Linked DNA regions of Homo sapiens: all the other regions are linked to region 1. Evidence: promoter capture Hi-C in 16 types of primary human blood cells and fetal thymus (Javierre and others, 2016). All regions are on one chromosome and are shown on one strand. The core of a region is centred on a gene start or on the middle of the fragment in contact, and the rest is flanking DNA. Distances in the headings are between cores, read along the strand shown.

The links. Contacts are between HindIII fragments. The CHiCAGO score rates a contact against its expected background, and 5 or more counts as called.
Region 2: a fragment that was not itself captured here is called in contact with the fragment with the promoter of MYO1B in region 1 in 1 of 17 cell types (total CD4 T cells); the score reaches 6.0 in total CD4 T cells.
Region 3: a fragment that was not itself captured here is called in contact with the fragment with the promoter of MYO1B in region 1 in 1 of 17 cell types (monocytes); the score reaches 7.1 in monocytes.
Region 4: a contact is called between a fragment that was not itself captured here and the fragment with the promoter of MYO1B in region 1, in 1 of 17 cell types (monocytes). The highest score is 5.5, in monocytes.

The regions. Positions count from the first base shown.
Region 1 is chr2:191,244,042-191,250,838 of GRCh38, forward strand. MYO1B (myosin IB) reads left to right here and starts at 1,363. Exons shown (of 31, transcript NM_001130158.3): 1 at 1,363-1,585. It overlaps MYO1B-AS1 (MYO1B antisense RNA 1), which reads right to left and starts at 2,134. Exons shown (of 4, transcript NR_186085.1): 1 at 1,878-2,134; 2 at 1-32. RefSeq lists enhancers at 1,249-1,871, 3,374-4,167 and a silencer at 1,284-1,673. The HindIII fragment of the contact is 11,846 bases long and covers 1-6,787 here.
Region 2 is chr2:192,152,062-192,158,885 of GRCh38, forward strand. The region is part of intron 4 of TMEFF2 (transmembrane protein with EGF like and two follistatin like domains 2); the gene reads right to left. Among named protein-coding and RNA genes, the nearest start is that of TMEFF2, 39 kb to the right of the region's middle. The HindIII fragment of the contact is 2,296 bases long and covers 3,069-5,364 here.
Region 3 is chr2:192,177,525-192,184,314 of GRCh38, forward strand. It overlaps TMEFF2 (transmembrane protein with EGF like and two follistatin like domains 2), which reads right to left. Exons shown (of 10, transcript NM_016192.4): 4 at 2,144-2,170. Among named protein-coding and RNA genes, the nearest start is that of TMEFF2, 14 kb to the right of the region's middle. The HindIII fragment of the contact is 6,862 bases long and covers 1-6,099 here.
Region 4 is chr2:192,194,497-192,201,549 of GRCh38, forward strand. It overlaps TMEFF2 (transmembrane protein with EGF like and two follistatin like domains 2), which reads right to left and starts at 437. Exons shown (of 10, transcript NM_016192.4): 1 at 1-437. The coding sequence starts at 28. RefSeq lists an enhancer at 383-958. The HindIII fragment of the contact is 657 bases long and covers 4,385-5,041 here.

The DNA of each region.
Region 1 (6,797 bases), core at 113-2,612:
CTGAAGACCTCTCTGTCCTTGGCTTTGCTGGTCTGTAAAACAAGGATAATGAGAGAAACTTACCTCAGAGCTTTTTGTGAGGATTAAACAAAGAACAGTCCCTGGTACCCAGTATGTGTTAGTTTCGCCCATTATCACACCACTTGTACATCTGAAGTGATGCTGATGGTGACATCAATGATGAGACAGTTCCCAGCAGATATAGTCTGTGAAGGTCCCACCTTTCCAAACTCTACTAGTGGCATTTAACAAATCCCAGCGCCTGTGGTTCTTATGCCAGTGGGAACAGTTACTATATATGGTCTGAATTCTTTGGTTCACCTCACTTTAGTGACAGTTTCCAGATACAGGTCAGTCCATTTAAACCTGGCCCATTTATGGCAATTTATTTCATTATAGGATAAAGTAGTTAGAACCATGAGTAATAATTACTGTGTCTACAGTGCTTTTAACACCTCAGCCAAGTAATCCTCATCTCACCCAGTGAGTAAGTTTGAATGCGCACCCTTCCCTGTGCGAGGATGAAGAAACCAGGACCTGGGTCAAGAGGATTGTTCTAAATTCTCCAATGAGGCAATAGGGCTTGAGTGAGAAGGTGTGTGTGTGTGTGTAGGGGGGGTGTCCTGATTCTCTGGCCCCTACATGCCTGTATAATATACCCCATCACTGATCATTACTCAGGACCTGTTAATACACTCTATTCAAATACGTATGGGTATTTGAAATTTCTTTTAAACTACCTCTCATGTATTTATAACACAAAGAATTGGCCAGTGTCTATTTCCCACAATGTGAGATTAAGTAATTTAAAAGATACTAAAAGTCTTGTAAATGAAGACACACCACACCACTCAGTATAATTTTTTTCTTTTTCTGTGAAACTAATATTTTCTGATATTCTCGGCATCCAAAAATTTTCATCTTGGGGAGGAGGAAAAATTGAGACTTACTCCCACTGTTTGCCGGAATGTGACCCCAGGCTGGCTTCGAGTTGTCAAATGTTGTATTTCTCATTTTATGTCAGTGAGTCTGGAAGCAAAAAAGGTAGAAAGACTGCCTTCCGTGGGGGCCGCGACGATCGCCCCTCCTTCCCTCAAGCCTCGTCCCATCCAGGCTCGCCCCGGGTGCGGAGGGTCGGGCCGCAAACCCGCAAGGCGCGGAGGCCGCCGCGACGCTCACCGGGGGGCGCTGTGAAGCCGGCACCGGGCGGACAGAGGTGAGTCGGCTCGGAGGCGGTGGCTCCCGTTCCTGCCCGCGCGCCGAGGGGCGAATCCCAGGCAGCGAGGTCGCCGCCCCCGCCCCTCGGCCGGCCCCTCCGCCAGCGGGCGAGAGGGGAGTGGCCGGGCTCCTCCCGCCGCCGCTGAGCACTCCGCAGCTGGGTGCGCACGGGAGCCTCAACCGCGGCGCGTGGAGGCAGTACCAGAGCGCGCGGCGCGCAGTCGGCCGGCAGCCGCGGGACAGCCTTGGCAGAACAGCCGCGGCGGGAGCCCCGCAGCCCCGGGCTGGGCCCGCGTCCCGGAGCGCCACCGGAGAGCGAGGACGACGTGGAGGCGGAGTGGCGCCCGGCGAGGTAGCGCCAGGCGAGGTAGCGCGAGCGCTTTCTCTCTCTCTCCCCTGCCCTTCCCTCTGCGTCCGTCGTCGGCCCCCGAGGCGCCTGCTCCGCGCCTTTGTGCCCGCGGTCCCTGGCCCCGTCGCACCCTGCGGGCGGGGGTCAGCGGGCTCTGCCGCTCTCTTGGGAGACGCGGCGCTGCGGCGGGAACGGCGCACGCTGTAGGTTGCGGAGGGTGGTCGTGACTCCGCAGTGGCTTCGGGGGTGGCGGGAGGGAAGAAGGGCTTGTAAACTAAGTTGCTCTTACTTTGCCCCATGCCTCTCGTACCTGTGGGCAGAGTCGAATCTCGGCTGTCCTCGTGTTCACCCACAGCCCCTCCATTCCTCTGGCCCACAGCTGTTTCCTGGCCCCCTGGAAAGACACGGTGTGGCTTCCTCCGGGCAGGAAAGCGGAGGGAGAACAATGGGGCGTCCTGGGGAGTGGGGTTCAGGTGCGGTGTGCCCCGGCGGCGGCGGGGGAGGAGGGGCCCGGGACGCTGTGGGCCTCCCTGCGCGTGCAGCTGCGCTCGCCTCCTTTGTTCCGCCGCAGCGGAGGGGGTTGCCCTGGGTCTCGTTTCCTGCCCGGGATGGGATTGATTCACGGTCCCAGAGAGGGAAGGGGAAGGGGGCGGGGCTGGAATGGAAACCAGATTAGAGACGGGAGCTACGAAGGGTGGTGGGGCCGGGAAGAGAGTTGGGGAGAGGGTTGGGAGAGGGTGATGAGAGCGCGCTGGAGAGGTAACTACAAACACACAACATTTTGTTCAAGGGCCATGTGAGTTTCTAGAGCTTATTTGTAGTGCTTTGTTCAGGCTTCGGCCCAGCGTTTATTGCTGCAACAAGTTGTGTGCTTCTTGAGTTTCTAGGCGTTCCCAATGTTAGATTGCTCAAAGCAAATCTTCTTAGTTACAGTGAAAGAAGCCCCCCCCCCTTTTTTTTTGAGATTTGAAAAAATTTTGCTATGAACTATGGTATTGGTGTGTATGTGTGTGCCTCTGGGTCTGTGTGTGTAGCTAGTGGATATTGGCTGGAATGGGTAGGAGACAAATTTTATAGAATCAATTTTGACGTAAAATTGTTTTATAGTATAATATAGTACAACAGTTTTCCAGGACTGTTTGAGGGCAGAAACCACCAGAAAATTAGACATTGCTATAAATAAATGAATCAGACTATGTAACACAATTGAAAAACCCTTTTACAGTCTGTCCCAGGAAACACACCACACACACCAGCGTTTGGGGTTTGAACTGAGGAGCCCTGGCATTGAAGTGTTCTGTGCTTTCACTCTCTGTGTGAGGATCGTTTAGAGGTGGTAGAATTAAATGTAATGTGTCAGACATTTGTTAAGTGACCTTTCCTAGATTGGAATCGAGACTCGCCAAAGGATTGGCTGACCTAGGGAGGGAGCTATGGGGGATTGAATGATGTGTGTTTTTTGAATGGGGTATTCCAAGCAAAACTGTTTTGGGAGGAGGCTGACATTTCCAGGCATTCATGGTTTGTGCCTGTGGGACACTGGTGGGAGGATTCCCAAAGTCGGACTGAAGGTTAGCATTACTGTGGTGATAATTTAGGAGACATTCTGTTGTAGTAGTCTGGCTGCAGACAGGGCTGGGAAGTGGCCCAGAGCTGCCTCTTTGACAAGCTGAGGGTCCGCCATTAAACCACCCCTTTGGCCATTTATTTTGAGATGAACCAAGTTTGAAAGCCTCTTAACCTTAGAAGGCTAATTAGGAGCTTGCTGTGGGGGAAAAAAATATCTCCTGCCCACTAAGTGGTAATGGAAAAGAGCTGTATAAGCTACTGCTGAGGGTTTGTCTTTTTCGTGGGGGATGTGGTCAAATTTTCAGGCCAGGCTGAAAAGCACTGGGAGTTGTCCTCAGGAGCCATTATGATGTGAAGTTGAAATGGGATGGTGTCCAACTGTCAAGCTGTTTGTCATTAGAACTAACACACTGCCTGGCAAAACGTTGTGCTAGGGCAGCTAACAGAGGGAGACTTTTTGTTGTTGTTGTCTTACCATTTTGGACTTTTCACTTATGCTGTGAATTGTTTTATAAAATACAACACGATTGAATTCCTCTCAAGTACTCATTGTTCTATACATTAACAAAATGTAAAGCATCTGAACATTGCTGCTACTGGAGATGTGGACAGATAGCAGAATCCTAAGTGGCTGGTCTCTGGTCTCTGGCCTCTGGCCGTTCTGGTGGATGCCTGATTGTGTGATAAGGCTGGCAACAGGCTGTATCCCCTTCCCAGGATGAATCATCACTTTGTCAAGCCTGGAGTTAAAGACTAACTTACCCTGATTGCTGCACAGTTATGCAAAGCAAGGAGGAACGTCTGACATCATGGGGAAGAAGAGGGAGTGAGGTGAGTGGGTGGTGTTTGGCTAAGAAGGGATCTTCAGCATGTAGCATCCATGTTTTTAGCATTTGTCCTCCTTTGGGTAAGATTGTCTTCTACCTCCCTTCTACTGTTTTCAATAGCTGAACATTTGGATTTTAATTAAATAGCCTAACAATAATTATAGCTATCATTTAGTATGTGTTCATTACATGCCAAGAATTTTACATACATTACTATATTCATCATCACAACAACTTGATAAAGTGGGTGTTATCTTCATTTTCCAGTGGAAACTGAGGCCTGGAGGAGTTAAGTAACTTGCCCCTTACACCGTACAGATGCTCCTAGATTTACAATGGGGTTATGTCCTGATAAACCCATCATAAGTTGAAAATATTGTAAGTTGAAAATGCATTTAATACACTTAATCTACCGAACCTTAAATGTGTCCAGAACAGTCACATTAGCCTACAGTTGGGCAAAATCGTCTGGTAACACAGTCCACTGTAGAGTATTGGTTGTTCATCCTTGTGATGGTGTAGCTGACTGGGAGCTGCGGCTCGCTGCCACTGCCCAGCATTGTGATGGGGTATCGTACTACATGTGGCTAGCCCCAGAAAACATCACAATTCAAAATTCTAAGTATGATTTCCACTGAATGCCTATCATTTTTGCACCATTATAGAGTAAAAAAATCCTAAGTTGAACCATTGTAAATTGAGGACCCTCTGTGCTTGTGTAGCTAACTACTAAGTGGTGGAAGTGCGATTGGGGATCCCAAAGTCCATACTCTTTAGGTATATACTGTATGGTATGATGTATTTTAATAATAACAACAGTTTGATTATCTAGTTGGTTAGCCCCTGGCAGATGTCAAATTACTTTCACGTCTATTATTGTAGTTGATTCTTCCAAAAACCACTGTGAGATAGGTTTGGAAGCCCAGGTTAGGACATTACAACTCTTAGAACTGTATTGCTAAAGAGCTGTATGTTATGGCCTGTATGAATAAGCTGTAAGTGAATGAAACTTTACTTTTAAAAAGTTAGGTTGCCAACATTTAAAAATAAGTTCTTTTTTCGAAACATTTAAAAGTGGTAGAACAGAGTAGATCTTATATTGCACTCAAGGCTTTTATGTTTATTGAAATCCATTTTAAGCCCTTTTTATCTTACAGCCTTTAATAGAACATTGCACTTTGCTTCTTAACTGAGACCCGATGCCAGAGTGTCTTTTTAAGAAGAGAAATAAGGAGGGAAGGAATGTGCTTATAAAGAGGAAGTGGGACATCAGAATTGGAAACACTCGCAGCAGCAGGCCATAGATTTTTCCCAGCACATGCTTTTTGTCCTGGCAGTAGCCTTTTACAGAAGGCATTCTTCCTTAGGGAAGTGTCAAGGGTCTTTCTTTACAGTATCCTCTGAGATCATCAAATTTCTGAGCTCTGTGGGAACACTCATTCCACATGATTTTTGTGCTCATCCCTTCCCCACAGGGGAAGTGAACTAGTTTAGGCATCTGCATGAAAAGGGAATAGCAGTGGTATCTGTCCTTAGGGTGGCACTGAGAGTGGCACTGGGCAAGAGGTACCAGACTTTGACACCAAGTACAGGAGCAGACTGGAGTTTAACACTTGGCATCATGGATTGTTTGTGGATTCCTCAGAATGCTCCTGGGCAAATGGAAAAGTCAATATTAGGTTTTTGTTGTTGTTGTTGTTTCTAAGATAAGAATTTGAAGACTGGAAGTTCTGCCTTGTTTATTTATTTCAAGCTAGGACACCATTTGGGGTCTTCAAGTTCTGTGGTATAGGTGAGAGTAACTTTAGTCTCCTCAGGCTATGAAATTCTCCTCCACTGGCTATTTTAGACTTTTGCCTCTGGAGGAGAGGCAGACACATGGTTTGCTAAACTCTAACAGGTGAGCACCTTCCAACTTACCATAAGCAGCATAGAGGAGGAAAAAGGATGCTTCCCAGCATTACACTCTTACAGCCTTTGGTAGGTCTTTGCAGTTGTCAGCCTCTTCCTCATCAGTTCATATTTTATTAAGCACACAGGTCATGCAAGACAATGCATTAGACCCATTTTAAAAGGAAGAAAGGAAATCCATTGTGCTTTCAGGGTCGTTGTAGCAGGGCAGGTGGATGCATCCCAAGAGTGGATGTTGGTGAAATGAAGAAAATGGCTATGACAGCTGTAGTGACCAAGACCAGGGGAACACTTGCTTTTGAGACAAAAGCTGAGAACAAACAGAAGCAAGAGAGTGGAAGAAAACTGAACACAGGTGCCAGCTTCTCTGACTTAGGTTTTATTTCCTCCAATCTCCAATGATGTGAAAGCGTTCAGGTTCAGAACCCTGACTGAGGTCCAAAAAATGATATATAAACTACCATTCTATGCGAGAAGGTTTGAATAGCAGTGTCTTCCCTGGTGCATGGCAGGTCCTTGGTACCTCCGCCAACTCTCTTCTCTACACACCTGCCAGCATCCCTTCCTCATCCTGTGTTCAATGTGGCTGTCAACTAAGGCTGTTAATAGACTTCAGGCATATTTGCATTTTAAAAGGCTCTTGTGGACAAGACATGCCAAATCTCCAAAGAATGAGTCATTCACATTGAGTTATATGATATTATTCATGCTACTGTTTATTAAGTATTGGGTGCTTGCTTTGTGCTAGGCCTCATGCTGGGTACTTTCTGTAGGTTGATTTCCTTCTCATCACTATCCCTTAGTAGGAGGTATTTGTAGATGAGGGAATTGAGTCACTAGCCCAGAGGTCAAGCCTCAAAGACCCCTTTGCTTTCCAGAACAACGAAGTGCCACCAGGTAGAGTGTACTGTGAAGCTTTGAAT
Region 2 (6,824 bases), core at 2,967-5,466, 910 kb after region 1:
CGGAGATGAATGTGTTACCCACAAAAGAATAATGCATTCATGCATAACCAAGAGCTGAGAGCACAAGGATGGCTGCCAATTTTTATCTCATGCATAACTCAAGTAATCCATACTGTCCAGCTGAGAACAACACTGGTGTGACTGTGGGTGACAGTGAAGGCTTGTCTTTTGTATTGTAAATATTATACTAAATGCAAGGTTTGAATCCAGATAGGAAAATCAGTCATAGGAACTCTTCATCCCCATATCTATATGGTTTTCAATTCACCAAATCAGAGATTTCTCTTTAGCTTGTTTCATAGGCACTAAAATTACCTAATATGATTGCTGTTGTAATCATTTCTGACCTCATGGAAGGTAGTTAAGCAAGAAAGAGACCAGGACATTATATGATATAATAGGGTCATGAAAAAAAAGGATTTGATGCTGCAGTAAAAGTAATGAGTGGCCCCAAGGGGGCACAGTCACATTTATCAGATGCAAAACTTCTTATTCACGTTTTAAAGACTGTAAAACATAACGTCTATGAAGGTAGCTAGTATGGTACCCGCACACAGCAGATAGTTGCTATGAATCTATTTTAATAAAAGTGAGCACAGATTATAGATTAGAAAAAAGACAATTATTTAATCAACCCAGAGTCATTTGATCCATTTATAATATTGGCATTATTTCAACTAACAACTGTATTTGTCTAGTACATACAAAAGAACTATGTTGGAATAACCTACAGGCCACTAATTTTAACAGGTTGATGAAGGCTGAGAACTGTTTTCTAACTATTATAATAACCAAAGACAACCATTCTCAGAATATATTTAATCAAAACCCTACTTTAGTGGATTTATCAGCATGTACCATAAGGATGAACTGGTCAAGTCAGGTTCCATTACAACCTTAAAACTGAGACTTTTATGCATGAAGATATTAGTTAATTTGGTGTATAATTTAAACTGATTGGAAATGTTAAATTTAAGAAAATTCTTCAATGGTCAGTACAGAGCCTATATTTAAATATTTTAAATATTTAATATTTACTATTAAATTAAGAATTATTACTCTTTTTAATAAATCTAAGAGTTAGTTTATTTGCTTAAAATATATACTAGACCTTTTAAAAGAAGTAGGTTATAGATATTAAGAATCTAAACCAAATTATATTTTTCTATACTTTTTAATATTAGCCCTTATAAATAATCTCACTGCATTTTATACAGCATGATATACCTGAATACTGGTATTTTTTTAAAAATTATGGATTTATAATTATTTCCACAGATGACTTTGCATCTAACTTCCCACTGTGCTTCTTTCCTAGCATATATACCCATTTCATACCTACCAATTTATTGATGAGTAGCCAATTCCCCAATTCTTACTTGTAGATGCATCTCCATTTTGTGCAGATTCACTGATGGCAGCCAATGATCAGGTACCAGGGTCAACTTTACCCTGTTTGTGATAGAGCAACAACTATTGTGCAAGCTGATCATCAAATATTTTGCCAACCATGGGACATTTTAATTAGACTATTTAAAATCAACACTCAGACACAACTCATGATGGGTAATATCTGTTGATGTGCCATTCTTATATTTCCTGGGGCAGAAATCAACACCTGTGGTATGAAAAGCATATTACAGGCTGTCTACATTGTTTTCTGTTTTGAAAGATGCTGATCTGTCACAGATGCTGACGTACATTGTAATGCTCAAAATACTCTATACTCGAATAGGGATGAAAGTGCTGATGCTACTCAAATAGGGATGAGATGGCTGATGCCTACTTGGGAACGCACCAGAATGGCTGGCACAGGTTCAATCATTAAATAAACATAAAATCGCTTTTTCATTTTGAGAGAAAATTCTATCAAAACTAGCTTAAATTCTTACATGGTTGGGGGAAGGGTGAATACAAAACAGTGCTTGTATATTAAATTTGAAGGCAGAGGAAGTTAAATGCAATGCTAATTCCATTAACCAGTTTCTGATTAGTGACATGGCTGCTTTTGAAAATGGGGAAGGATTATCTTTGTGCTTCCAGTGGTTCCCTTGGGTTCCTATGATTAGAGGAGTCCAAGACTATAGGGGAAATGTTACACTTGGCAATGTTACACTTCAGTATTTAGAACCAGGACTTATGACCTTCCTCATCCAGAAGTGGTGTATGTTTGTGGGGAGGAGAGACACTAAATAATATGTAACACTGGGTACAACTCTCTCTAGTGAATAGTTCAGGGTTGGTGTGTGATAGAGCTTTGTATAAGAGAGAGGACGCTCTGATTGAGGATGTGGTTTGAGTAAGCATGGACATAATGATAACATGTATACTTTCTACATTGGTACAGTAAGCATGCTAAGTTAAATTTCTGACTTAGCCATGACTGGCATTCACTCCTCAAATTCCACAAATCAAAAACAGTGGAGAGCTTCTATTTAGAAACTACTTTGGTGCTTGTGTCTCCAATAAGGACCACAGACAGAACTTTGTATCAACCTTAATGAATTTTATCACTTATTTCATTTATTTTGGGATAACACATAAAGTAGCATCTCTTTTTAATAATCCTTCTAAATTATAAAAGCTTCCATAATGCTTATAGCAGGTACGTTCTTTTCTCTCTTTTCTCTGGAGACTGTTCAGGTGATCGCCAAGGGACTGTTTGTGCTTAGATTCCACCTCCACAATGGAATTGAAACATATACATATTCTTATGAGGCTGGTGATATTGCAACCACCATCTTCATGCAGCTGATTTTTGAGGGCTTCTTGCCTGCTTCTCATCCCTGGTCTTTGGAAAGTACATTCCCCCACTTTGACAGGTTTCTGTACCACTGCATTTTGGGCAGAATAGGTCTAAATGGGTTTTCAGCTTCTCTCCTTCTATAAAACTTATAAGATCTTTATGCGAAATTTTCATACCCTTCCTGGGAACTTTAAGTTGGATATCGATATTTCTTTCTGTTAAAAAAAATAAAAAAGGCAAAGTTTCCTCCCATTGGCCAATGCACCCTGTGGTGACAATTATTAGGTTTTGGTGTTGTACTATACAATTTTCTTGTTTTCCAAGCTTATGGTTGGAACAAAATCATTTAGACAACAATAAAATATTTAAGATAGTACAAAGCTGGAAAGCACCTTATATATCAGCATGATTTTGACCGAGAGCCTATTGGGAGAAATAATTTAGTTTTGGGAGAAATAATTTAGTTTCATTAACTAAAGTGGCTATCCTTGTCACTTTGGCTAATCAACAGTGACTCAGGAACTATGTCTATCTGGGAAAGAGTAAAGAGAAGAAAGCGTGGGTTTTTAAGTAAAATAAGATACAGATTATGAAAATCCTTATAAACACTTGGCTTACAGTAACTGTAATTCTAAAGTATTATTACTAAAACTGAGACTGAGGGTGAGATTTTTATCCAACTTAGACTCTTCAAGATAGGCATTAGTTTGTATCCAAAAGAGTAGGATTGCTGTATTTGGAATCCATGGTTCTAAGCCATAGCTGCTAATTGGACAAGAGAGAGGGGAGGCTTAGCTGTATTTCTGGAATTCCTGGATTGTTTTTCTCTCTAAAATCAGTTTAAAAACCATCTGAGGCAGTTGGCAATGCTGCCCAGCAGCTGCCCAAGTAGCAACTGCAACAGCTGGATCAATACAGCTACTGCTACAACAAAGAGAACTGCCAAGACCCATGAAATGTCTAAATAAGCAGAGGCCTGGTTTTATTTACTTGTCAAAAAAAGAAGAAAAAAGATGAGGCCTAACACTTGTTTTTATAAGAAATTATCTAAGATTTTATGGTATTTCTGCTTAAAATAGCACAGAGGAACTGAAACAGGAATCTAGAGACCAAAGCTGTTACTTACTACTCATTATGTTATAGAATTTATAGCATATGGCTTAATGCTCTTGAATACAAGAAACATTAAAATACAGAGGAACATTTGAAAAAAAAAAACAAGATAATAGAGGTTTCAACGTCATTGAATCTTGAACTATTCACTCAACAAATATATGTTGGGCACTTAATCTAAGCCAGATACTTAGGCTGGTGCCCAGGAAACAGATATGGAAAACAGACAAAAACCTCTGCCCTCTTGCAGCTTACCTTCAATATTTTTATTTTATCCATTAATTCTGTAGCTTCTTTAATTCAAATAAGTGATCTCTTATCCATAATGCTAACAACAGGTAACATTTCATGAATGTTTATATGTACCGGATACTGTTCTAGGTACTACACATACATGAATACATTTAATCCTCAAAACAACTCTATGAGGCAGAAATTGTTTTTACAGATGAGAAAACTAAGCCACAGAGAACAGCATTAATGTGCCTAAAGTTCCACAGTTAGGAAGAAGTGGCATTTCCAGTATTCAAACCCAGAGTCTGGGTCCTTAATCCTTATACCCTACTGCCTCCTCATACAACAACCACTCCACAATGCAGTTGATGGGTATTCTTGATTAGTTTATTTCTATTGATTTAAAAATTAAGCACATTGGTACCTTGTCTTTAAAGAACAAGTTTCTGTTTATAAACAGGGTATATCACCAGTAACAAATTTTACATATGCCAGAAATATGTAGGCCATGAGAGTTCTTAAAAATAAACACAAAAATCCCAGCTCTCAAATCCGATTCCGAATTTGGCGGTTATAAAATAATCACACTTAAAGTGTCTCTCTCACCTGTAAGCCAGCATATACCGTATCTACAGACTGAAATGCTATTTATTTTGCAGTGAGCACAGAATCCTGAGACCACGCAGAAGGATCACTGGGATTATTAGTCTAAACTGTTCCTTTTAGAGATGAAGAATTAAGGTCGAGAGAGGTTAACATATGTTCTTAAAGTCACATTTGAGAGCCTACTATCACTTAGAGATTGTATAATAGTCCCAATTTTTCTTTAACATAATTTGAGGATTAATGGACCAAGATGCAGTTTGTATAGGATGGTGTAGATAAGATAGCTATGAAATTCTTCCCTGGCAACCTCCAGAATATTTAATATGAATATTGTGATTTAGGGAAATCAGTGTCAACTTTTCCTACCTGACATTTGGGACAGTTTAACGAAAACTTTAAAATTTCTTTAGAACAGAAGGTGTTCAAACCCAAATATGGTATAGATAAAGTCTGACTGAGGTAAAGTGGCAACACAGTATAAACTATTAACTTTGTTGCCAAACATATCTGTTTGAATATTGATTTTGTCTCTTAGTAACCTGGACATCTTAGGCCACTTTTTTTACTCTGAATCTTAGTTTTCTCATCTGTAAAATAGGAAGAGAAATGCGTATTACTTAGATTGTTATATATATCTTAAATAAGTTAATGTATATAAGTATTAAAGCTTAATAAAAACACATAAAAGTTAGTTTCTGTACTCTGTGGTTTTCTTAATTATTGTGACTAAAAAACAAAATAGCTCACAAGAAGTGTAACACTTATTTGGATATACGTTTCTGAAATGATGTCTCCAATATATCATATGTCAAGAAGTTTGTAAATATATATTTATTTTTAATGTGAAAGCAAGACATCACTTTGACACCACGTATGGCACTTCTAAGCTTATTTATTTGTTTCTACCGTCCCTATTCCCTCAAATTTTAATAAAAGTATACCTGAAAAGCCCACTATAACTTTATTCCAGGCTATGGTAAAAAAGATAAAATCTTTGATAATAGGAAATTATTTTAAGTGTTAAAAAATCTTCATTGTCTAGCTTAAAATGACTTTTTAAAGCATCACCTGCACCCTTTCTCTCCTTGCATTTCATATTCTAGTCATGCCAAACCATCTGTTGTTCCCTGAAAATGCCATGCTGTTCCGCACTTCCATGTCTTCATGTGCGTTTCCTTTATCTCAAATGGCCTTTTCCTTGTTCGTTTGCCAAGTTCTTACCTGTTTTAGTCTACCAGTGGTACAATCCTTAGAGGCAGGATCCACGCCAAATTTATTTTTGCCTCCCTGGCACAGTATGAGTACCATGCAAAATGTTTGTTATGTGAATTTATGAAGCAGATGATCAAGCAGGGGCAATACCATCTTCATAAAAATGTGAATTTCACAATAATGTAAGAAATTTATCTGTACAGCCGTCTACTGGCACTTTAAGAAAGACTGAAACACAGACTTAAAAAATCTATGGAATGATGGTATTACTGTTCAGATATGATTATCATTTCATAGAGGACCAAATTTAAAGGACAGAACTTATTTGGATATACATTTTTGAGATTATATCTCTGATATATTGTGTGTCAAGAACTTTGTAAATCTAGATTTATTATTTTTAATAAAGCTAGACAGATCTGATGCTAGCCAAGCATTTTAGCCATCAGTAATGTTCATTACTTGGCACAGAGTTGGTATTTCCTAATAAATTTTAAAATAACACTATGCGATATTCAGTAGAAAATAATATATTCAAAATCTACTTTAAAGCATTTACATCAGAATATCACAAACCCATGTAAAAATTACCCATGGTTACACTGACTACTGAAAATTAGCATTTCCCCTATGTTTTTGTCTCCACTCTAGTTCCCTTACATTAGATGTTATTACTCCACACTTTAAAACCTCTAGTGCTGGTGAGACTTACAAGTAAGGATTCAAGGTATTAATCCTCTCCTAAAGCTAGAAAAACAACCACAGCAACTCACAGAATGATCCACTGAAATCAGGAATAAAAATAATTGTGCATCGTATGCTTGTCAATAGGAAATCTTTAGTACATGAATTTAAAAAGAGAGCAAATCGGAAAATGATAAAAATGCCAAATTATTCAACACCTAAACTATTC
Region 3 (6,790 bases), core at 1,419-3,918, 930 kb after region 1:
GCAAATACTCATCACCACAATTTTCAGAACTGCAGTTATTTAAAAGAATAAGCTCAGAATTAAATGTGTTATATGCTTTTTTTTTCTAAAGCAAACATCGGAAGTTGTTTTTGTTTTCTCCAAGTTACTATGAAGCACCTCTAACTGAAAGGAAGAGTGATTAAAAAACAGAAAAAGAGAAAGAAAATAAAGTGTTTTCCAAGTGATGTTTCACTTATATGGTATAAGTTATACATGTCATATTCATGAGATTAAAATTATTTCCTGAAAAAATGTCTTATTCAGATCACAAGACAACATAATGAACCAAAGATTTTAATATAAAACGCAACAGGGAAGAGTGAGTTTGACTTCATTTCCATTTGCATGTGCTAATAACAATGAATGAAAACTAGAAACTAGTATGTGAAACAAAGTTCACATCTTATTGTTAGAAAAATAAAGATATGAAGTACAGTATGGTAGGATAGTCAAGCAGAAAAAAGTAAATGATGATGCTTTAACAGAAAGAGAAATGAAGACATTCTTGGTATGTTTTATTTTGTCTTTAAAGATGCTAGAAAATTAACAAGACTGGTGGGTAAACAGTGGAACAGTTCAGTCTCAGCACAATATTTGCAAAATTAGGTAGTCTACATATAAAACTAAACAGCTAGAAAATATACAGAATTTTGCATAGAAACTGTTTCCTTACAAAAGCAACATTTTAAAAAATTAATTGATTTCTTATTAATAATATTCCCATGGTAAAACATCTACTAAAGGAACTGCCTTTTTTCCTGTCTTTTTTTTTTCTTTAAGATTTAATATGCTATTCTAAGGTCTTATTTTCAAAACCTCTAGGGACGCTTTCTTGGGAATACTATATTAATCAGCTAGGAAAACTTTTATTAGAAGTAGAGAAAGACTGTCCAGACATCAAAGGACTGTCCAACATCATGGGACATTGAAACATATTCTATGCTTGAGTCTTGACTGCTGTTCAGTTTTAGTCTTTAGGAAAAAAATTGTGTTTCAATCTGCTGCTGTTCAGTTTTAGTCTTTATGAAAAAAAAATTGTGCTCCAATATGCTGCTCTAATTATGTTCTGTGGGTATTGCTTATTTGAACTAGTTAAGTCTTTCATTACATAAGGAAACTTGATAAATCTTTCAAGTGTTTCCTGAACTAGATAAAGGGTGCACTAAATATCTGCCACCCTGAACCCAAGGCCTTCTTTTACTTATCTTTTATCAAATTCTGTATTTAAAAACTAAAATCAACTTGGAATAGCACATTTAATTATTTTACACAACTGAAGCAAGGTCTTGAGAGAATGCTTTTATTTGTTTTGTTTTTCTTAATCTTGAAATTATATATAGGTTGTGTTTTGTTTTGCTTTGTGTGTATAAAAGTCTAATTTTGTTTGAATTTCATCGGGAAAAGTATTTGGGACATTTACAATTTAGTTTCAATCTATAGGTAAAATCTTTATTTGGTAGTAAGTACATTAGATCAAACTTTTAAAGTTTCTCTCTCTCTCTCTCTCATCTTATATACTTCCCTAAACAAAACTAAATAATGGGAACATATATCATACTTTAGTAAAAATAACTATAGATTTAATCAAGGAAGCAAAGATAATATTTTACTTTCATTGGACTTCATTTTATCTTTTTCACTTTTATGAACTAAAGTTCCTTCAGTTTCAAATTATAAATCTGATAATTAAAACCTTGGCTATATGGTAGGTTATGTATGTCTTATTAGCACCTAGTAATTGAGAGCAGTGTCATATATTTAAAAATCCAATATTTAAATGATTTCCTCATGAATTCTTTCTTCCCTGCCAAATATGCTTACATGCTTCTCTTCAGAAGTTTTTACATTATGCCTATCCATATCAAAGATAACTTACAAACAAACAAACAAACAAATGAACAAGGAAGGTTAACTGGAGATAGAGTATGATTCATAAGTATGCCAAATAATTTGCACGGTATATACATGTACTTAATATGGTGACAATTTTTTATGGTTTCACCTTTCCTAAAATGCAAAATATGAAATTTGTCTTAAATATCTGAAATGGAACATACATAAGTAAATATACATAATAATATCCACCAGTAAATCTTCAAATATGTAAAAAGGCAACTCCTACCTCCATCTCCAGATCCTGATCCTGCATCTGTGGGGGGAAAAGTTATATTTGCTAGTAAAACATATTCAAAAATATTTATGACTTTTTAAGCTCAAGTTTATTTTCTTAGTTTAATACTGCAATAATATTGTTTGAGAAAAATACTAATATTTAATCCAAAAACGTACATTCACATCAATTTAATTTAATATCTATTAATGTAACTTCTATAATAAATTATCCATCATTTTTATTCCAGAGCTTTACGAAAACATTATTGCCCCGTTTGGAAAATTTCCTAATCTCGGCTATGAAAAATTCCTAATCTTGACAGGCTGGATTTGGTGCCATTAGCAAAATAAAGTATTAAAAATGAGATGCTTGTAACAATCAGTAAGTTTCAGAAATTAAATAGTCTAATGCGTGTGGCAAATAAACCCATAATTAAGGCTTGTATTCTTGCAAATTGCATATGAACAAAGAGAAAAGCAGTTTAAAAAGAAATATATTTTATATGGGTGTTGATATGTTTTACGAATACCACAATTGTGGATGATTCCATCTGTGTCAAATCATCCTTTGTTTTTGAAGTCAGTAGAAGACAGCTTAATTTTTGCCTTTGTGCTTAAAGTCAGATATTCACTAAATGATTCTTGCAGAAAAAATCATACTTCCTCTTCTGGATTTTTCTTTCACCACTTCTTCTCTCCCCTTCCTTCCTTTAATTACAATTGGTCAAAGTTGTCTATTTCTGGGAAGGTAGTTCCCAGAAACACACAAAATTTCAAGTTGAAATCAAAACCATTACGATTCCATCTGCTTCTGCTTCTTAAGTGTAGACATCATCTTCCTTCTGACTTTCCATTTTTGTTTGTTCACAATACATTTGGTTATGTATTTTAATGTTAATACAGGGAAATAAGATTAATATTGATATTCTCTGCCTGATGTGCCCTTATTCCACAGTGAAATCTCACCCAGGGTTCAAGACTTATACCAAATGCCACTCTTAAGAATTTACGGTCCAATTAAAATAAAACATGACTTTTACTTGTTTGCTTCCATGATACTTTATTGAGAAACACCACATAGAAAGAGGCATGGTGTTTGAAAATCCACAGAAGGCTGACAAATATGGAAGAAGGAAGGCCTTCCCAGCAGCCCTCCTGTTTGTCATGTATTGGCATTAGCAGTACCATGAAGGAGCAGTAGTTTGAACTGTCAGTCTTGTTGGAGGCCCACATTAACTAAATTTATAGGGTCTAATACTATTATATTAGAATGTCAAGTAATCAATTAACTATTAATGTGACAGGACATATGTCTTTGGATCAGCATATCTTTTCCTTAAAGGCAAGTTAATTGGTAAAATAATTTATGATAAAAATTATTCTTAGTAAATGTAGAATCAAACAAGGATTTTAATCATAAGAATTGACTGTTTAATGATAATAGACCAAGAAAGACTGATGAATTCATGTTGATATTAGAATATTCCTACCAACTAAACTGACTGTCATAAGTCACAACACCATCTCTTTTGGACAGAACAGTGCTTGGGTGCTTTTTGTATACTTTCACAGACAAAAATTTTAATTGATTGTATTTGCATTAATTTGAAAGTTTAATTCAGTATTACTTATACTCATTCAGGGCTAAATAACAGACTGTGGTATTACAGTGATAACACATTCTAAATATATTTTAGTTAAATGTATATAGTTTCTTTTAAATTTTCCCCTATAAACTTCTTTAAGTCAAGGAAAATGTGTTGTTCATCACTCTACACTTATATGAACATAATGGGAAATGCATAAAGGCTTAGGAGTTACAAACTCCAAACCTTACTCATTGCATGACAGAGAAATGTTATTCAACCTTGCTAAGCATATTCCTCCTCTATTCAATGGGTACAGTAATATCTAACCGATTGGGCTATTTTGAGGCTTACTGCACAGTAGCATATATTAAATGCTTAAGCACTGTCAGGAACATAATAATTAAAATGTACAGTAAACATCTTGCCTATTCATCTACGAGTATTCTAATAAATACATATGACTGGGGAAAATCAGAAAAAAATGCCAATAGCATTTTAGCTTGTATTTCCCACATGCATTTCTAAAACTTCAAGGGGCATGGTCCTTAAGACAATATTTGATTTGACACAAATGAAACAGCCAGGAAAAAAAAGAAGGAATAGTTTAGAAAAATGATCACTTAAGTCCATGGCATCATTATGAAATCATTATGGGAGGCTTTAATGATTTTCCTTTATTATATGATAAGTCATCCTGGCCAACTGATGATAAATAGCCTACTAAAGTCTTATTAGTAAGACAGAAACACCTAAGAAAAGAAGTCATGCTGTTAGACCTAAATCTGAGCTCCTAGTTAATGCATTTCCTACAAGGCAAAAAGTTAAATTGACGGTAAGACCATTGAGCAGATTTCACAATAAGAGTCCATTCTCTGGACAAAAAAAAATTAAGTTCAATGAAATATAATAAATATAAAGTTATATCTTCTACTGCCTATTATTCCTAGAGCTTACAACTTGCCACTTCCATTCAGTGTCAAACAGCATTAAAAAATAAATGGGAAATATACAAAGAAAAGAATGAGAATCCCTTTTAGATCAAAAGTCAGAACCCCAATTTATTTACAGTCAGACCTGGTTAATCAAAATTACTTTGTTCTCTCCGTCATTATTCAGATCAAAAACCTTTTAGATTTACAAGTCCATGGAAGATGCATTCAGCAAGACTGGCTTACTAATTAAATCCTGTAGAAATCTAAGTATGTGAATGAGCTAAAGATGGATTACTCGATTGTGATTAAATTTTCTACTTGGCTAAGTATTTATTTTCATAGTATAACCAGCACATCAGGGACTAGAATGGAAAGACTTGAATGAATCAGGAGAATGTGATTATATGCGCTGACAAGAACTTGGAGGTTGGCAAGTAAGAAAGAGAGATTTTGCTACATTGGCCATAACCGTAACTTCTGGTCTGTTTATTATAACAATTGCCTGGCAATTCTCATGTGGCTATTGTTAGAAAAGAACAGATATCCTCCATGATCTTGATCTTGAAAAAGCAAATCCTTTCCTCAATACTCTACGGTATTTGCCTTCATCCTTCCTGGTTCCTGGGATTTTACTTTTTTTCTATTCAATTTGTCCTAAAGTACTATTTCTCATTTCTTTGGTATGGCTGACTGATTCCTCATAATTAGTTTGCTCCTTGTCAAACTTTCTATATCCCCCATCCTTAGTATGAGAGCAGCATGCTGGTCCTCCTCCTTTCCTATTGGAGAAGGCTGCCCATTGACTCTCACATATTGCTGTTTCTTTTATTCATGACTTGTCACTCACAGACCAAGCAGCAATGACCTGTTTGCTTTAGCAAATAAACAAATGGAGTACCAGCCCAGCTTGCCTCCTGACCACCCTTTCATGAAGAACATTCACATCTGAGCAAATAATCCCTTAGGAGAAAAGACTACTTACAAACCAAAACCAAAACAAAACATCATTGGCCATGAGATATGATTCTATTCTCTTTCTTCTGCTAATTCTCAGAAACTTGGGTAGTCACCAGTATAACTTAGTATTATCAATTACTAACAATCAATATGCTTAAGATAATCTTTTAAAGAATATGAGGCTTTTCTCTTTGCTCATTTTCCACCCTGCCCCAGTCACTTAGCACATAACTTTTAACATCATACACTAGATTAGAAATACCTGTTATCTAAGAGGGACTTTTGAATAAATAGACTTTTCATGACACTATTCTCTGCTTCTATTTTTAGAGAAAGTTTATAATTGATGACGTTGTTATTATTCCTGAATATGCTTATATCATCCAAATTCTCAGGAATTATGACTTTCCAGAAAGATGCTTATTTGCCATTAAGAACAACTATTATGGCACCTTACAGCCTCTACAATATATGTGATTTTGATATCAAGCTTAACTTGAAAACTCAGCCCCATTTTAAAGCATTCCCCATTTTAAAGCATAAGCTCTAACAACCACTGTAGACACAAGGAAAATTTGAAAAGCTACAGAGCACATGAAGTCACTCTTTCTTCTTACTTCCTTTATAGCATTGTTGGTAAGCCATGACTAAAAAACTTTGTAGAATCCCAGGTTAATTGAGTCAGAAATGACAAATGTCACTAGAAATTATGTCCATTACAAACACATTAGTCAATAAAATCTACTAAATAGTAAGAAGACCATTTTGTAGAGCTGCTAAGATTAGACGTCAACTTCAGAGCCCAAACCTGCAAGATTGCCTTCCAGCAGATAATGCTATTGTTCAAAACAAACAAACACAAATAAACAATACAACTGTATTCATACATAGTCAGGTTTCTCCATATTTGGCACGTTGGCAGTCTATCTAGATTTCTAATTATATGTGGCTTTTATTCAACCTGCCTGTATTTCATTTAATGACATACGTACTTAAATCTACCAGTGTCCTTATGGTAGATATCCTCTTTCTTCCAAAAGTGATTTGAAATGTAAAAATGACAAAGAATAAGAATAACAAATGTTTTGAACAAAACAATACGGCTTGTCTAGTCAACATATAATCTGAATTATTTATTGGGAGATAACAAGAAATGAAAGACATGGTTTTTGGATTTGG
Region 4 (7,053 bases), core at 3,463-5,962, 950 kb after region 1:
ACTGCCGCGGGGACTCCCACAGCACCATGACTAGTTCGTGCAACTCTGCAGCAGCAAACGGCTTCCGAGGAACACAGGATCGCGGGGGCCGGGCAGCGGGCTACTGAGCATCCCGCGGACGGCGGCAGCAGAGGCGGCGGCGGTGGCAGTGGCACCCGGCGGGGAAGCAGCAGCCAAACCCGCGCATGATCTCGAGAGTTTCAGCAACATCCAGGGACTGGGCTCAGCCCCGGAGCGAGAGGGTCGTCCGCTGAGAAGCTGCGCCGGAGACGCGGGAAGCTGCTGCCATAAGGAGGGAGCTCTGGGAAGCCGGAGGACAGGAGGAGACGGGAGTCCAGGGGCAGACGAGTGGAGCCCGAGGAGGCAGGGTGGAGGGAGAGTCAAGGCGCCCCGCAGCCCGGCAGCCGCCTCTCGAGCTCTGCCGCCCGCATCCCTCTGGCGTTTGGGAAGCAGCAGGTCCTCAGCCCGCCCGGGGTCACGTGGGAAGAGGCAGTCGGGCTCTGATTGGTGGAGCAGGATGCAGGTCCCGGGAGGGAGGGGTCGACGAGGAGGTGCAAGGATGCAAGGAGGAGGCGGCCGCGGAAGCCACAGATGGGCTCGCTCGCCAGGCGCTGGCCCGAGTGGGGCTAGGCGGGGATGGCTCAAATGAGAAGCTCGGGCTTCAGGGTGGGCTACCCGCACACTCATATACCATTCGCCTCACTCTCCGCTCCAGGACGCCCCCTACCGAAGGCGGGGTCCGGACTAGCGCCCCTCTTCCGCGCGTGACCCCGGGCCGCGAGTGCGGGCCGCGGCTGGGTGGCGTCTCTCCGAGCTGGAGATGGTGGGGGCGGAGGTGTCAGAGGAGCAGCAGCAGCAGGGCAGAGAGGGGCGAGTCGGCGCGGGAGAGGGCGTCCTGCTGGCGACCGGCGCTCCAGCGTGCGGGAGCGCGCCGCCTAGGCTGTAGGGGGATGCAGGCTGGGAATGTCGCGGCGGAGAGGCCAGGGACGTTTCTCTAGGGATTTACAGGAAAGAGGGTGAGAGGCGATGGTGTTAGAACCGCTCTTGCCGACCTGGAAGCAACAGCAGCATCTCCCACAAGAGCGTGCAACCCCAAGGCTGCTCGCCGAGGCAGCTCAGCCATCCCGGCAGGCGCTCTCCTTCCTTCTCTCTTCTCCCCTCTCTCCTCCCAGGCCCCCCGCAGCTCCGACCCAGCCCAAGCGTTCGCAGGTTTGAATCCCTCTCCTCATCACCCGCTCCTCTCCAGCCCGTAGCCTATTAGTGTGTCCACCTGGGAGGTGCGGTCAGATGTGTTTGGAAGGTCAGATTGGTCGGGACAAGTGGTCTGAGAGAAAGAGAAAGGCTCCTCTGCATACGCCGCGGGTGGGTTGCCGGGAGCATCGGCCGGGCAGCGGCGTCCGGGAAGGGGAGAGCGGGCTCCATTTGTTGGCCCAGGCAGTGACCCTGCGTTCCTTACTCGGGTCTTTGCCGGATGGCCGGTGACCTGGGGCGACGAGAGAAGGTCTAACTCGGCAGGAGTCTCTGGCTCTGCGCGTTTCTTTCATTCTCTCCAGCGGGAAGGGCAAACGGCATAGCGGGACCCGCCTTCCGTCTGCTGCATTCTTCAGGCAGTTAGACACACTCTTTAGCCTAATGGAATTTTAGTCGCCAGTAACGGGACCAAGAGCTTTCGGGGACAAGGGTGGAGAGGAACATCTTTCTTCCATGACCGGGGTCACTATTGCAGTCTCAGTGTTTTGGATGCCCCATAGGGAAGAGCTTTCTTTTTGGTGTGTGATTATTCAGTGATTCCTGTTTTTGTTTTTGTTTATCTTCTCTCCGCTCTCCTTCTCTATTCCTCTCTGTTATCCCTCCTCCTTCTTCTCCCCCCGCTTTCAAAAGCCTCCGGATCCTCCCTTTTTCTATTTAAATTCTCCTTTTGTGCCCCTCTTTCTGTGTCCCCTGAATTTAGGAGAGCATTTGATAACATTTAACAGGCAATTAGTGTCCATTCCCAATCACTTAAAAGAGGCATTCATATACTTTGAAAACGGGACTATCTATCCTTTGCAGACACCAGCAGAAAAACAAATTGTACCCGAGTAATCCTTTTAAGTACTTTAACCTCCAACCTCCTCCCACTTCCTTGCTTTTTAACTTCTCCTTTGAGAGATGTGATCGTGCAGCACCTCAGTGCCTCAACGAAATCTTTTTTTTTTTCCTGTGTGAAATCCATCCCTTTATCTTACATCTCCGCCTCCGTCCGAGACTGTCCCTCTCCCCTCCCACCTCCAAAGATTTCTGAATCTCAGTGTCTCTCACTCCTGGCAATTAAGCAGCAGATCCCAGCATTCTAGTCGGTGGCATCTCGCTCCTCACCGACGAAGACTCCATTAAAACAGATCAATTAGACCAGACGTTGGAGGCATCAGAAAATCGGCTTCTAGACAGAGCAGCTAAATTCTTTAAGGAAACAGAATACCCATTAGATAGAGCTGCCAACTAATATTGCAAAACAAGGAATTAGAAATTTCTTTCGCTACAGGCTTTCAGCAGAGAAGGCAACATAAATATAGATCAAGATTTAACAACTCTACAGCAGAGAATGAGAACATGTCATTTTCCATAGCAAGGCTGGTGTGGTAACTAATCAGGCTTATGAAAATAAGTCATGCTTGAAACTAAAGGCAAAGTCCTTAAAAGTGTTTATGCAGTAATTATGATAATGAAACAGGACCTGCTAGGATTTCAGAGTTTGGCTATGTAAGTAGAATTTTAGAGAACCTCTTAGCAGAGGAAAACTGTTTTTGAATTTTCTGCTAAGTAAATTTTTGGCATACTTTCTAATAATATATGCTCTTCCTAAGACGTTTTGCCAAAAGTAAGTTAAAACTCCAAAGGAGTTAATTACTGGTTGTAACTGGTTAACAAATGCGGTTGCTTCCACAGAGGTCCTTTAAATTATTAAACAGTTTGAAGCAAAGCCTTTTCAATGGGAATGCTGCAATTTTGTTGCACTTACTCTGTACTTAGTGTTATAGTGCCACCAAGAAACAAATTCTGAAACTGGCAAGCACCACCAAGTGGCAGAAGAACATCACTCATTGAGCAGAGAATTGTATTACTGAATATGTAAATAAAAATATATACATTATTTAGACTTGTCACTAGGTACCAAAGAAGTAGACAAGACTGCATTAGCAATTGGATTAGTGCTTTAACTTTTCCCCAGCAAGGCAAAATCAGTTTACTTATTAGAATTAAATTTAAGTCTATGAACTGTACTTTGCATTGCGTATCATATGATTGCTAGTAATATGACACAATCATACCATGTATTTGCAAAATTCTTATTTTAAAATACTATACCATATTTACTTTCAATCTTCTTGAGCTAGAACACTTTATTTGTGGCATATACACTCTAGAATTGATGCAGAGGAGCAGAGTCCAGTTGTTAGATTTTTCAGTAGAAATAGTGCAGATATATTTTCTCCAGAAAACTTAAGAACATTTTTTTTTCTCATGGAAAGAACATCATTATAAAGTGTGAGATTACTCACAGCTTAAGTAGGGGGCTTGGGAGTTATTCTCCAACAAGAATAGTTTAAGATAAATAAATGAACCTGGGAAAATAAGATACACTGCCAATCAGAACTCTTATCTCCTTCATGATTTCATACTTTCTGATTGCTTCAATAAAGGTAAGATGTATCCTTTGCTTCTTAGGTGTCAGGCATTGTGCCATGTAGGATAGAACATGTTATTTTTATTTAATCTTTAAAACACCCCTATGAGACAAAGAATATTATCTCATTTTATATAAAAGGAATATGGCTTTGAAAGCATCAGGCAACTTGCCCCAAGAAACAAATCTCGTCAGTGACACTGCTGGGACTCTGTGAAATTCTGCCTGACTTCAGAGCACAAGACATAAGTCACTAATTTCTGCTGTATTGCTGCCTGTTAGCTTCTGAGAGGGGAAACTAACTGGGAACGTATCAGTTCTGTCCATGATACTTCATTTGCCCTTTCTGTGGAGCCGCAGTAAGGCCCAAACTTTAATTCTCAAACTTCGGCAATAAGATCCAGTGATTTCTGAACCTGGTTGATCATATGAATTCCTTGAGAAACTTTGAAACAATAGACAAATTCCAAGTCCCACTATCAGGGATTCAGAAAATCTGGAGTTGGGCCTTGGGATCCACATTTCAATATTCATCCTTGTTGGAGAAGTAAGGTACCACCTATACCTATATGACAAATGAAAGGATACCTCGATTTTTGCTCAGTTTTCACAGAGAGGTTTCTGAGACAGGTTAAAAGCTTTTACTCAGTGTAAAGATGAGCTGTTGTACATGTCTGTCTCTCTGTTTTTATGCATATGTTCACCAAATATGTATTAAGCTTCTAATATGTCTGACACAGTAACTTTGTGACTGTAGACAATTTCCTCATTTGTAAAATGTGAGTAATAACAATACCTGCCTCCTGGGCTTGTTCTAAAGATTAAAATAAAAATGTATGGTTTAATGGTAGTGGATTTGGGGGGATCCCCTATATAAATAAGTGAATGGAGGTATGAATAAATAAATACATAAAGATGTGTGTACTTATATTTATACACATAATTAAAAATAGTTAAAGATGTACAAATTAAAGTTAAATGTATGTGATATTGAAGTATATGTTGATTATTGATAATGAAGTACAGTATAATTTCTAACCCCACACCTTAACATCTCATACTTAATAACTCATATCTTAATTTCTAGCCTACTTAAGATACATAGATATAGATAGAATGTTCTAAATCATTATTGCCTTAGTTTTAATGTATAATATTCATATGAAAAAGTATCTATCAGTGTGTAGTAAATGTATTAGAACATTATTTATAGGTCAAATGATATTGACAATGTTTCAGAGTCGTCATCTTCATTTCTGGATAATTTTTCAAACTGAGAGTAATTAAATTTGCTATTTTTTCACCCTTTTCTACAATGGCAAATAACATATAAACAATGAGCTGTGATTTAAAGAAATAATTTTATAATGTAAAAGCTTCCCTATGCCTTATTGATTCCCATGCCCTTAATTAATTTTGGTAGTTTAAGTTTGTGATTTCAGTGCTGAGGAAAGTTTATTTCATCTTAGAGCAGTGGGGCTCAGTCATGATTTCACATCACAATCACCTGGATAATTAAAGAATACTGATGCAGAGTTCGTATTCAAAGACTTGGAATCCCTAGAAGTGACACAGAAGCATTGGTATATATATATTTTTAAAGTTTTCCTGGAGAAACACATAGCCATGATTGAGAACCACTGTCCTGGGGAAAGTGACTATTTTCTCATTACTCAAATAGCCAAGTTTCAGGAGGTAAAATACTTACATTTTTCTCCATTAAAACTTGTAAAACACATATCTCACCAAAGACTATTAAAACATCTAGCCAAAGCAATATGAACTAGTTAATGTTTGCCACTAGCTTGCCAGTAGTTAAAAAAAAAAAAAGGAAGAACTGTTATTGGAAGAGAGCTAGATTTAATAAGCAGTAGTCATCTCTATACAATCTGGTGTCTTTTTATTTATAAATTCAAGTAGGTTTCCATTGCTATTAATTTAATCATAGCCTTCTTAGGGCTTAGCCTAATGCTTTATTTCAAACTCATTTTGAAATTTATTCTCTGGAGTCAGAAACAGGAACTAGAATCAGCTTGGAATGAAACTACCTTTCATGTCTCTCTTTGGCTACTCATGGCTTCTATTGGGGGAAATTAGAAAAAGACTTAGTAAAGGTAGTTCTTTCCAATTTGTATTATTAACACCATCCAGTATTGCATATTCTGAGCATTTTACTCATTTATTTCATACCATAAGCCCCAATCATTTCTCCCTTTATTATCTGTGACATTGATTTTTTTTTTCTCCAAGTTACTTGTTAGTGGTAGAACAGACCCCCGGAGCACTAATGTTCCCAGCCGCTTTGCTGCTGCTCTTCTACCCACTTGTCGTTCTTCTAAAAAAATAAATAAAGAAAAAATAGAAAAATGGAGGGGAGGAACTTCTTTCATACAATATTTAGGAAAACTTAATATAAACATCGCTCACTTGAAGCTTCACAGTGTGCATTTACACATTAAAGGCTCTGAGGAGCCCTGCAGTGAAATCAAGCCAAAACACATCAAGCAAAACTAAACACCGGTTTAACTTTATTGACCTCAGATTTTCTAACATTATTTGATCATGAATCCCTTTTAGCAAGAAACCACTACAATAAACTATGGCAATGGATTTCCATATATTACTCCATTAGTAGCAATAGTTTAAGGAATGAATGAGCCTTTTGAAAAGTTGTGTTGCCATTTTTAGGTGCCAGGGCTGGTCATTCCCTTTGACTTGTCTTTTCACCAATGAAGTCAGCTCACAATCAGGTCTTTACATTAGTAGTGTAAATGTTCCACAATTGTATCTTCTGATGTAATGTATTCTGACATCATAAGCATTTTCGGAAAATGATTAAAATGTTAGCCTTTCCTGTACTCCACCACATTACCGCCTTTAAAAATCTTCCTTCCTTTATTTTACCTTACATAAATTCTAAACTGGATACTGTCATTTCCTTAGCAGTGATTGTAACACAGAATCAGATACAGATTGTGTCTGATAACACTACTTTCCAAAAAACTGAGTCTTATGTTGTTGAACATGTTAAAAGTGTTTAAATAGAAAATTCAAAAGATTTAAAAGAGAATTTAATTGACTTATTTACATGTCTATACTTATTTCTTTACAGTATAAATCTGGACATTTAGCCACTTGCTGATTATTATTAGAGCTTCCAATATAATGACATGGCAAGATCACATGACAGGAGCTAGGCAGCTGTTGACTATTTGAGTTGCAGTCTTTGCCTTGACATTTATAAGCATTAAAAAGCTCACTCGCTATACAGATATCTCCCATTTTTAGATGTACTAAATGTAAAATATATAATTTTACAATAATACTATATAATATATAATAAACATCTATTGTAGATAAAGCCAATCTATAAACACTTATATTCA